Regions from separate parts of the Homo sapiens genome. Here regions 2 and 3 are each linked to region 1. The links are contacts of gene promoters, found by promoter capture Hi-C in human tissues and cell types (Jung and others, 2019). All regions are on one chromosome and are shown on one strand. The core of a region is centred on a gene start or on the middle of the fragment in contact, and the rest is flanking DNA. Distances in the headings are between cores, read along the strand shown.

Region 1 (3,023 bases), core at 322-2,821:
AACAAAAACAACTTCCCCAACCCCGCCCCCCGCCCAAACCCTCACAACTTTCTGGCTGTAGGAATTCTCGTTTTGCAGCTGAGGAAACAGGTTTGGAAATTAGACTGCATACCTAAAATCACTTGGCTCATCAACCTACAGCTCCCTCTAGGGGGCTGCCTCGCCCTTATTGGTTATGTGCACATTTGGGGTGAATTCCACGGTCATCTAACAGAACTGTTTTGGTAGTCCCAGGTAAACTTACGGTACGGAAATTTGTTTCTTGAGGATACAAAAAAGAAAGGTGTCAGGGGGAAAGTAAAAATTCAACTCCTAAAACATCGCGTGTAGAGTCAGGCAGTCACTTCATAAAGAGTTCAGTCGATGAAGTTTCACTCTTGAAACTTTACTGTATGTATGCAAGCCCTAACTATTAATACAGGTGACAGCATCCACCTTATCTTCCATTCTCCCTAAGCCCTGAGGGTGGGGATGGGGGGGGGGGCACTCCAATCACCTGAGCCTAAGAACATAGCCTAAGAACATGTGTCTGGCATGGTCTGGTTATTTATAGCCTAAAAAAAAAAAAAGCCAGCTTCTTGTCCGATTCAGGCTTTCCCTGCCCAAACCCACTAGCTTAATGCGATATTGACATTACCAGGAAATGCATACGTCCCAAATGCATCTGCTTATAGATGTTTTTACCTCCTGAAATAATACCGGGTCACAAATACTGTTGTGTTTTTTGCAGAGAGCTTCTACTGCTCATTTAATTCAGGGGCGTTGGATTTGTGCTGAGCGTAATTTGACTCCAAGCATGCAAACTGATCAACTTCTTCCCGTGTGTTTGGGGAGTACAAGTGACTACTGCGACTCCTCAAATGTTTTTCTTTTCCTTTTCACGTGGAGGAAAGCGAATTCTCCGAAGACTGTTCGGCGTTCTACGCAGGGGTTGGAAGGGGGGTTCCTGAGTCACCTCTGGCTGCGCGGGGGGCCTGTGTGTACCCTCAGGGACACCAGGCTGGAATCGTCCACCTTACTTTCAAATGATAAAAGTGCGGAGGGTCTTTCTGCCCCTAAGTCGCGTACAGGATTGCCTGTTTACGGAGTACACTTTCACACACTTCTTTCCCGGTGGTGCAGTCTCGTGGCGGCAGAGCCTTTAGGAAGGCTCTGGGGGGAGACAAGATCAGTGGCGACCACGCCTCCCATGTTACAGCGCTCGCTTCCTACTGGGGGTTGGCGGGGACACCAAGGCTCTCCAGCCCGGGAACACGGAGTTCGGCTCCGTTGTACCCAACTGGAAAGCTGTGGAAACACAAAACTCGGGCGGCGACAGCACCAGCCGATTTTCCGCTCTCTTGGCTCTTTCTTCCGCTTGCACCGCCCCCACCCCGGCTCCTCCGCTCAGCACACAGGAACCCACATCCCCCACCACTCCCGCGTTTCTCTCCTGCCACCAGCTGGGGCCTGCCTTTTATAGGCGCCGCAGCCAATGAGCACGCTTCTTTCCTTCTGCCCGCCCGCCTGGCCAATCGCCGCGCCCCTTGTGTAATCTCCGGCTAGTCGGCTGCTTTCGGCTATTTTCGCTGTTGCTGGCTTTTTCAGGAGCTGCTCGCTCGCAGCCAGAGACGCTGCTTTTTTTTTCCGGGTTCGGAGCCGTTCCGGATGCTTTAGGCTGCCGGATGTCTGATCTCCGAATAACTGAGGCGTTTCTGTACATGGATTATCTGGTAGGTGCAGGGCAGGGGTGGCATGTCGCCTCTCGGATCTCGGCGTGCCCGATGGCCCCCTGCCTTGAGGAGCAGCCTTTTTGCTTTCTTTCTTTGGGATAGGATGCCTCTGGGGTTCTTTCTCCCGCAGCCGGCTGGTAAGCCTTTCCCTGGACTCGGAGGGGCAGCCTCCAGGGCGGGTGGGTGGTGGAGCTGACAGGTAAAGGTGCGGCCTGGGCCAGCACGGCTGCAGGGCGAGGGTCGCGCTGGGGCTGCTTGAGAGATGGGGCGGCCGCGGCGGCGCGTCCCCTGCCCGCGATCGGCTTCCTGGCTTCCCTCTGCGCTCTCCGCAGAGGACTTTCTTTCCGGGGGAGCAGGAGTTTTCCTCTCTCCCTGGAGCAGAACTCCAGGTGCTATTAAAGAGCCATAACCAGAATGGCTCACTAAGTGCCCAGCAGCCCTGGTCATTTGATTGTTATTAAATCTCTAAAGCTATGACCTCGGTCGTGGCGGGGTTTTAAAAGCACATTACCATAAAGCAGACGGGTCTAAACTACCTCGCAGGCTGGCACGAACAGGACTGAGTAGGGACAGGTATAGCCCCACCATTCCGGTCTTGGGTGCGTGCCGCGGTTCCACTGTGCACGGATTGGAACCCGGCTGTTTAGGCCAGGCTTGTGCTGAGAAGTTTAGGTGGGAAAAGTGTCAGCACAGTGCTGGGACCGAACATCATTTTAAAAATGGACTTCTATGTGTCTTTGTGGAATTATGCGAGCACCATGTTTTGTTCCAGAAATTATATTTCCCCAGAGTTGCTTGTTTGCGTTTAAGGGGATCCTCATTTACAGAGACTTGTGTTCGATCCTATACGATTATTGTGTTTACCATGTTGGGCAGAACCGCTATTGCCATGCAGAGTTGAAGTAGACGGTTAGAAACATTGACCCTCCTGTCATCTTGTTGGACACATGCACTCGGTTTTCGACTGCAGATTGGCCTGGCAGAGATTTGCCAGTGCCTTCTAGGAATTACACTTAAGGCTGTACTGAGAAAGTCTGTGCATGCTTTGATGGCCAAGAAACGCCGGACCGGCTTTGTGCTGTTATCTGTGTATTTGGGCTTATTTTAGTGTACATAAAGAAAATGTTTCTCCTAATGCTTCAGAGCTTGATGGTCTTGTGGGAAAGGATGGTGACTGCAGTTAATGCATAGCCTTGTGAATGGAGCTGGATCTAAAATTCTGAATTCAAGTTCTGTTTTGTTGTTCATTTGTTGATGGCAGTAACTTCCTTTATCTTTGTGATAAAGGGATATTATTCACCCAGTACTGTA
Region 2 (3,420 bases), core at 653-3,152, 1.2 Mb after region 1:
TCTCTACTCTTGCTGTATAGTCTTCAAAGTCCAGCTTACATTTCATCTCCCTGATGAAAACTTTTCATGATCTGTCTGGAGGTTACACAGGTGAATTCCTATGGAACTTGGCTCTGTACAGCTAAAGATCACACCAAACCCCAGAATATAATTACTGATGAACATGTCATCTCATCTTTAAATTGTAGTCGACTGAAATTGGATTGATACATTATTTTTTTCCCCTTAGGGAGGGGTTGGACTTTGGTATTCAATCAATTTTTATTTCTTAAATGAGTGGATAAATGAACAAAGGAAACAGATAATAAGTGTCCAAAGTATAAAGTAGGTTAGGAGTACCAGAACTGAGAAGTGGGGAAATAGACAGGACTCCATAGATAGAGTCAAAGGACAGAGTATTTTATTACTGTAAAGAGGTCATGAAAAGTTTCATCTAGGTACAGAACAACAAAATGAGGTTTTGGTCAATGCAAGAAATGGAATAACTCTTTGGTCTCAAGTCACATTTTGACTGTAGTGTGTGGTGAGATTTTGTGCATTAGTTGTTTTTTTACATTTAATGGGAACTGGGCACATAATTCTATAAACCCTAAAAGGAGAACTGGGCCCATAAAATATTCTAATTAAAAACTGTATTCTTTGTGGTTTTATTCACATGTTTTCTTTGTATTATAATCTAATATGCTTGCTTAGAAAAACACATTTCATTGTTCTTGAGTCATATTCCCATCTTGAGTTTATTAAACTTGAATTAAAATAAATTACTCTAAAAACAAGGCTATATTTTCAACATTTGTACTTGAAAAACCTTTGAAACTAAATGATATGGTTTTGTGGTGTCCCCACCCAAATCTCATCTTGAATTGTAGTTCCCACAATCCCCACATGTCATGGGAGGGACTTGGTGGGAGGTAATTGAATGATGGGGTCAGTTACCCCCATGCTATTCTTGTGATAGTGAATGAGTTCTCACAAGAGCTGTTGGTTTTATAAAGGGCTTCCCCCCACCCTTCACTCTGCACTTCTCCTTGCTACTGCCATGTGAAGAAGGATGTGTTTGCTTCCCCTTCCTCCATGATTATAAGTTTTCTGAGGCCTCCCCAATGATGCAGACATGTGAGTCAATTAAACTTCTTTCCTTCATAAATTACCCAGTCTTGGGTATTTCTTCATAGCAGTGTGAGAACAAACTAATACACTAAATAAAGTTAAAATTAAAAACATTAAGCAAATCTAAGTCTTAAAAATGGTAAGGCCTCGCCCATCTCAAATATAGATATTTGTTACAGCAGCATGGTTTTCATTTTTGTCTTTTGGTCTTTTCCAGTTGGAGAGGTTTGATTAATGTTATGTTAAATGCCTAATATTATGTAATAAATTAAGTTACTCATGCTGTGCCTAGCCCCTTCGCACCTACTTCTAGCAGCAAAAGGTAGCTGAGGATAAACAACTCCATGAGGGGAAATTCACTATACATATGTTCAAACAAATATATCCATGGTATCAAAGAGGGAGAGGGGGGGAAAAAAGCTTTCAGAGAAAATATTTCAAATATTTGTCTTTCTCTTCCTATTATATTTTATACGTATGTATTACAGAAGAAAAAAACGCTCAGCAAATTAAGAAAGCCCACTAGTAATCCCTAAGGACACTGTCACTACTAGGTCTTGATGACAGGCAACATTCTGAAGAAATATATCTAAATCATGGACTTTTTTTTTTTTTAAGTTAAGAAAACCAGAAAAGTCATAGGTCCTGATTACAGATTCTGGCACAATTTCAATGACAGTTTTTAAACATAATGTCCTCTTAGTTGTAAACCCACATATGGGTCCTTTATTGGTGAAGTTCAGAGCCAATTTCTTCATGCAAGCCTGGAACCCTATCTACTCCTTTCTGATCTTTCAACAGTTTTCAAGGAGTCGGCCTTCTTTCTTTCCAGAAAGCAATCACCCATTCTTTCAACTTCATGTCACTAACATTACTCATCACAGTGGAGGAACAGACGAGGGTAATTATAATTTTTTTTAATTTTGGAAAGAGCCCAAGTACTAAATGTCTTTCAAATTTGTGTAGTTCCCTACTCTATGACTGTTAATTTTCTCGATGTCATTGAAAGTTTCCTTTGTTTGTTTATTTATTCATTCGCTCTTTCATTCAACAAGTGTTTATCAAGTACCTACTATGTGCCAGGCACTGTTTTGGACTCTGGGGACATATCAGTGGACAAAATCTTAAGAAAGTGTGCATTCTAGAGGGGAGAAATGATTATAAACAGACCAACTAAAAACAAAATCCAATCTACCAAGTAATGATAAGTGATATGAGAAAAACAAGCCGAGTTCGTGGAAAAGAGAAAGCTGGGTGGGAGGGCTGCTGCTTTGTATTGGGTGGTCAGTGAATACTGCTCTGATACTATTCATTGAGCAGGACCTGAAGGAAGTGAGGGGTGCATTATGCAGATATCTGGGAAAAGATCCATTTAGGCAGAGGAAACAGGAATTTAAAAGGTCCTGAGTGTGCTTGATGTGTTCAGGGAACGGCTGGACCACTGTGGCTGGAGCAGAATGTGCAATGTGTTCGAGGATGGAGGAAATGACATCAAATAAAACAGAGCTGGGACCAGACCTGGGCCTTGGTGTCCACTTTAAGGGCTTTGACATTTATTCCAAGTGAGATGGGAAGCTATGGAAGAACTTTTAGCAGTGAAGTGACATGATCAGATTTAAGTTTTAAAAGGATCATTTTAACTTTTACATTGAGCCACAGACTGTAGGGTTAAGTTCATAAACAGGGAGAACAGTTTTAAATCCATTGTAATAGTGCAAATGCTAGATGAGTTATTGTCTCAGAAATGTACACATTCAGGCTGGGTGCGGTGGCTCACACCTGTAATCGCAGCACTTTGGGAGGCCGAGGCAGGCAGATCACTTGAGGTCAGGGGTTCAAGACCAGCTTGGCCAACATGGTGAAACCCTGTCTCTACCAAAAATATAAAAAAATAGCCGGGTGTGGTGGCACACGCCTGTAATCCCAGCTACTCGAGAGGCTGAGGCAAGAGAATTGCTTGAACCCAGGAGGCGGAAGTTGTAGTGAGCCAAGATAGCGCCATTGCACTCTAGCCTGGGCAACGGAGTGAGACTGTCTCAAAAAGAAAAAAGAAAAGAAAAGAAAGAAATATATACATTCAGTCCAGTCTGGGTTAGATATTTAACCATGATGCTTACCTCATAGCCAGCTTTTGGGTTTAGTATTTTCTCAGAATCATTCATAACCTTCCCTGATCTCATTTCTGTACATGGACCAATCTCTTCCTAATCCAACTATACCCAAGATAGTCCCTATGAAACCATCCTAGGGGAGAAACATTCAACCTTTTGGCTCTCAAAAATTTTTCTTCTGGGCTTCAAATGTTTTTTG
Region 3 (3,281 bases), core at 491-2,990, 1.4 Mb after region 1:
CTCTTCCTCTCTTTTCTAAAAACTTCAAAATGCCCTCATTTCTATTTTTTCCCTTTCAGTTAACAATTTAGTTTAAAAGTGCACACTTATGGTTCAGTAAATGGGCTTTGTCTAGTAGTCACAGATGCTGAGTATGAATTTCAATGGATCCGTTAGCTTTACTACTAAGATCTTGCTGAGATCAGAGAAGGGCTTCTGGGCAGGCTGAGCACTGGGGGTGTGCAACATGGTAACTCTGAATAAGAGAAACCCTGAGTTTTACTGGGCAAAGAAAGAACAAGTGGTAGGTATGATTTCTGAACCTGGAAATAGCGAAAATGAAGGAAATTCCAAAAGCGCGTATTTCCAAATAATGACAGGCCAGCAAGAGGACACCAAACCTCTAGAAAGAGGTATTCTTTCTTCCAGCTACTGATGGCTTTGGCATCCCACAGGCGCATTCCTTTGGCCTTCAGGATCTTAGATGCGGATGTGGAGAGTCAAGAGGTAGGCTGACTCTGAGTCTTCAGCTAAATTCTTTGGAAATTAGTTTAAAAAAATAAATTTATAACATTTAATTTCTATGTGGATTTGCTCCTCTTTGAACAAAGCAGAGCCCAGGAGTTTCTGGATGAATACATGTTCTGGTCTTGTTACAGGTTCTGGTAAATCAGATGGAGAAATGTTGTTGCAGAAATGTCAGCAAACTTTACAGCAGTAGTTCACACATGCAGCTACTATACATTCATTCATTGCTATTTTCCTAAGAAATGGAGCAACCTAGGAGCTTATGCTACAGTAGATTCCAATGAACCATAATGACTACTTCAAGAACAAAGAAGCACATACAAAGGTGTGATATCTTCCTGTTGGTTTGAGTTTTCAAACCTGAAATTCTTTAAAATACATTTCTGGGATTTTATTTAAATATTGATGCAACACACCTAAAAAGCAGTGACTTCTTGGTAAAATGTAATACTGAAATGGAAAATTGTCTTTTCAAAAAAATAAGAAGTGTGGTTGGAAATTAAATACCTTTTAAAAAATTAAAAATAAACACACTCTCACAGCTTGGGGGTTTGAATGAACCCTGTACCAAGGAGTTGAGACAACTCTTTCTTTGGGTCACATACTGGAACCCTTAGCATTCAAAAGCTGCTCAGCAAAGATAATTTCAGCATTTCAGTGGCATCTTTCTCTGCTGTCGTATTTCATTCAGAAGCCATTTTAGCATGTCCCCCATATATGGCTTTTCATGACAAATCACTGTGATGCCACACAAAACTACTTTAAGTGTTTTTTCAGTATAAAAGAGTTTTGCATTTAGAGCTCAATATCAAAATTAAGCATGTTCTGTAAAAGCTTAATTTAACCCATTTAATATACTTGTTTTTAAACGAGTCTATCCTGATTTTCCATCCTAGATAAAATTTTAGCTCAATTGCAGTACTTTCCAATCACCTTGGGCAGGGAGGGAAAATTTTTAGGTATAGAACCCAACACAAAGATGCTAAATGTATTCTTGGTGACTTAATTTTCAATCCATATTGTATATGGATTCTACCAAGGGAAAATATTCTCATTTGAATAGGGAGAAATGATCTTTTTCAGGTAATTCTTTTCTTGGCATTTACGAGTGCTGACTGTCATGCTGAACATGGATATCCAACAGGAATCAAGGGGAAAAGCTTAATTTATATTGTTTTGAAAATAGATGTTTCTATGATCATAAAAATCTTTTTATATATTCCTTAAATATTTTGGATGGTGATTTAATACATAAACATATTTGTACAGGTTTTTTTAAAAACACTTTGTAATTTTGCTTACTCAACAAAAATGAGTAATTATGTAAAATATTTTTTGTCATTTTATAAAATATGTCTTTTTGGTATTGTTTTTGGATAATGCATGACCTGTCATTTTCCAAGTAATGAATCCCTGATGGATTACATAGTTACATGACTATGTCATGAATTATACATTTCTTGTCACATATTTGAGGCAAACCTGAGGATAGATTATTGAATAATTGTTATTATTTTCTTTCATAAAATATTTCATTTCTCCATTTTCTTTTTCAGTGGTCTTTTGAAGAATCCAATCTGTTGAGAAAACACAAAACATAACACAATTAACTATTTTAATTTAGGTAGCAAATATTAATCCTTTGGATAGAATTAAATTTAATAGTATATTGGCAATGCTGGGCACACAACTAATATAATTAAGAAATATTTTCTCATTGACCTATTAATATTCAATGTCAAAAAATGACATTTATTAAATTGCTGTTTCTTTTTTTTTCTTTTCTTTTTTTTTTTTGAGACAGTCTCACTCTGTCACCAGGCTGGAGTGCAGTGGCGTGATCTCCGCTCACTGCAACCTCCGCCACCCGGGTTCAAGTGATTCTCCTGCCTCAGCCTCCTGGGTAGCTGGGACTACAGGCATGCACCACCATGCCCAGCTAATTTTTGTATTTTCAGTAGAGACGGGGTTTCACCATGTTGGCCAGGATGGTCTCTATCTCTTGACCTCATGATCTGCCTGCCTCGGCCTCCCAAAGTGCTGGGATTACAGGCGTGAGCCATCGCGCCGGGCCGCGGTTTCATTTTTAATATTTTCATTGGTTAAATACACCATGACCCCTAGTAAAATATAGTATACACATTGAACTAATTAAAAGCTTCTGGGAAAATATTTTGGGAGACAAACTGCAATTAGCTAGCATTGTCTCTTCTTTGCCATCATCTTTTTTTTCAGGGATGTGGCAGAGAAATTTCCATCAAATGATCGATGACCATAAGTTGAGGTCATTAGAGATGGTAGGGAATCTGACAGGTATATTATGGCTAGGGCGTTAGGGAGATTTCTGAGTTGTCTGTATTAACTTTAAATGCATCAGGACGTCTGCTTATATAGATTTGATATAAAAAGCCTCTTGAAAACACACTATATCATTTGGAAATAAAAAATGAAGTTGTTGACCATAAGAAAAATTTCACATCGTGGTGGATGGTGAGCCATATTTCATTATGCTTTGCAATTTGGGGCATCATAAAAAGTTATAAGTGCTGCAATTGTTTCCCATCCTATAGAATAACAAAACTAAGTATGGGGGATAGAAGGGATCTTTGCAATTATCTAACCTAAAATGCTTATTTTTAAAAAAAGAAAATTAAGGGTCATAGGTAAGTGATTTTTCAAATTTGTATATATTTTTTAAATTTGAGAGGGGGCTATAATAGATCGAGCAAAGGCAATGAGTTAATTCTTTAAAAGTGTGGCACCTCTACATCATT

The links. Contacts are between HindIII fragments. The study calls those that stand out against the background at their distance.
Region 2: a fragment that was not itself captured here is called in contact with the fragment with the promoter of ARL15 in region 1 in 1 of the 25 tissues and cell types used here (IMR-90 fibroblasts).
Region 3: a fragment that was not itself captured here is called in contact with the fragment with the promoter of ARL15 in region 1 in 1 of the 25 tissues and cell types used here (hippocampus).

What each region holds. Positions count from the first base shown.
Region 1 is chr5:54,309,121-54,312,143 of GRCh38, reverse strand. It overlaps ARL15 (ARF like GTPase 15), which reads left to right and starts at 1,571. Exons shown (of 5, transcript NM_019087.3): 1 at 1,571-1,712. The coding sequence starts at 1,665. The HindIII fragment of the contact is 9,246 bases long and covers 1-3,023 here.
Region 2 is chr5:53,128,925-53,132,344 of GRCh38, reverse strand. No RefSeq gene overlaps it. Among named protein-coding and RNA genes, the nearest start is that of MOCS2-DT, 21 kb to the right of the region's middle. The HindIII fragment of the contact is 3,023 bases long and covers 391-3,413 here.
Region 3 is chr5:52,951,210-52,954,490 of GRCh38, reverse strand. It overlaps ITGA1 (integrin subunit alpha 1), which reads right to left. Exons shown (of 29, transcript NM_181501.2): 29 at 1-2,084. The coding sequence ends at 2,040. The region is part of intron 2 of ITGA2-AS1 (ITGA2 antisense RNA 1); the gene reads left to right. Among named protein-coding and RNA genes, the nearest start is that of ITGA2, 37 kb to the left of the region's middle. The HindIII fragment of the contact is 5,123 bases long and covers 1-3,281 here.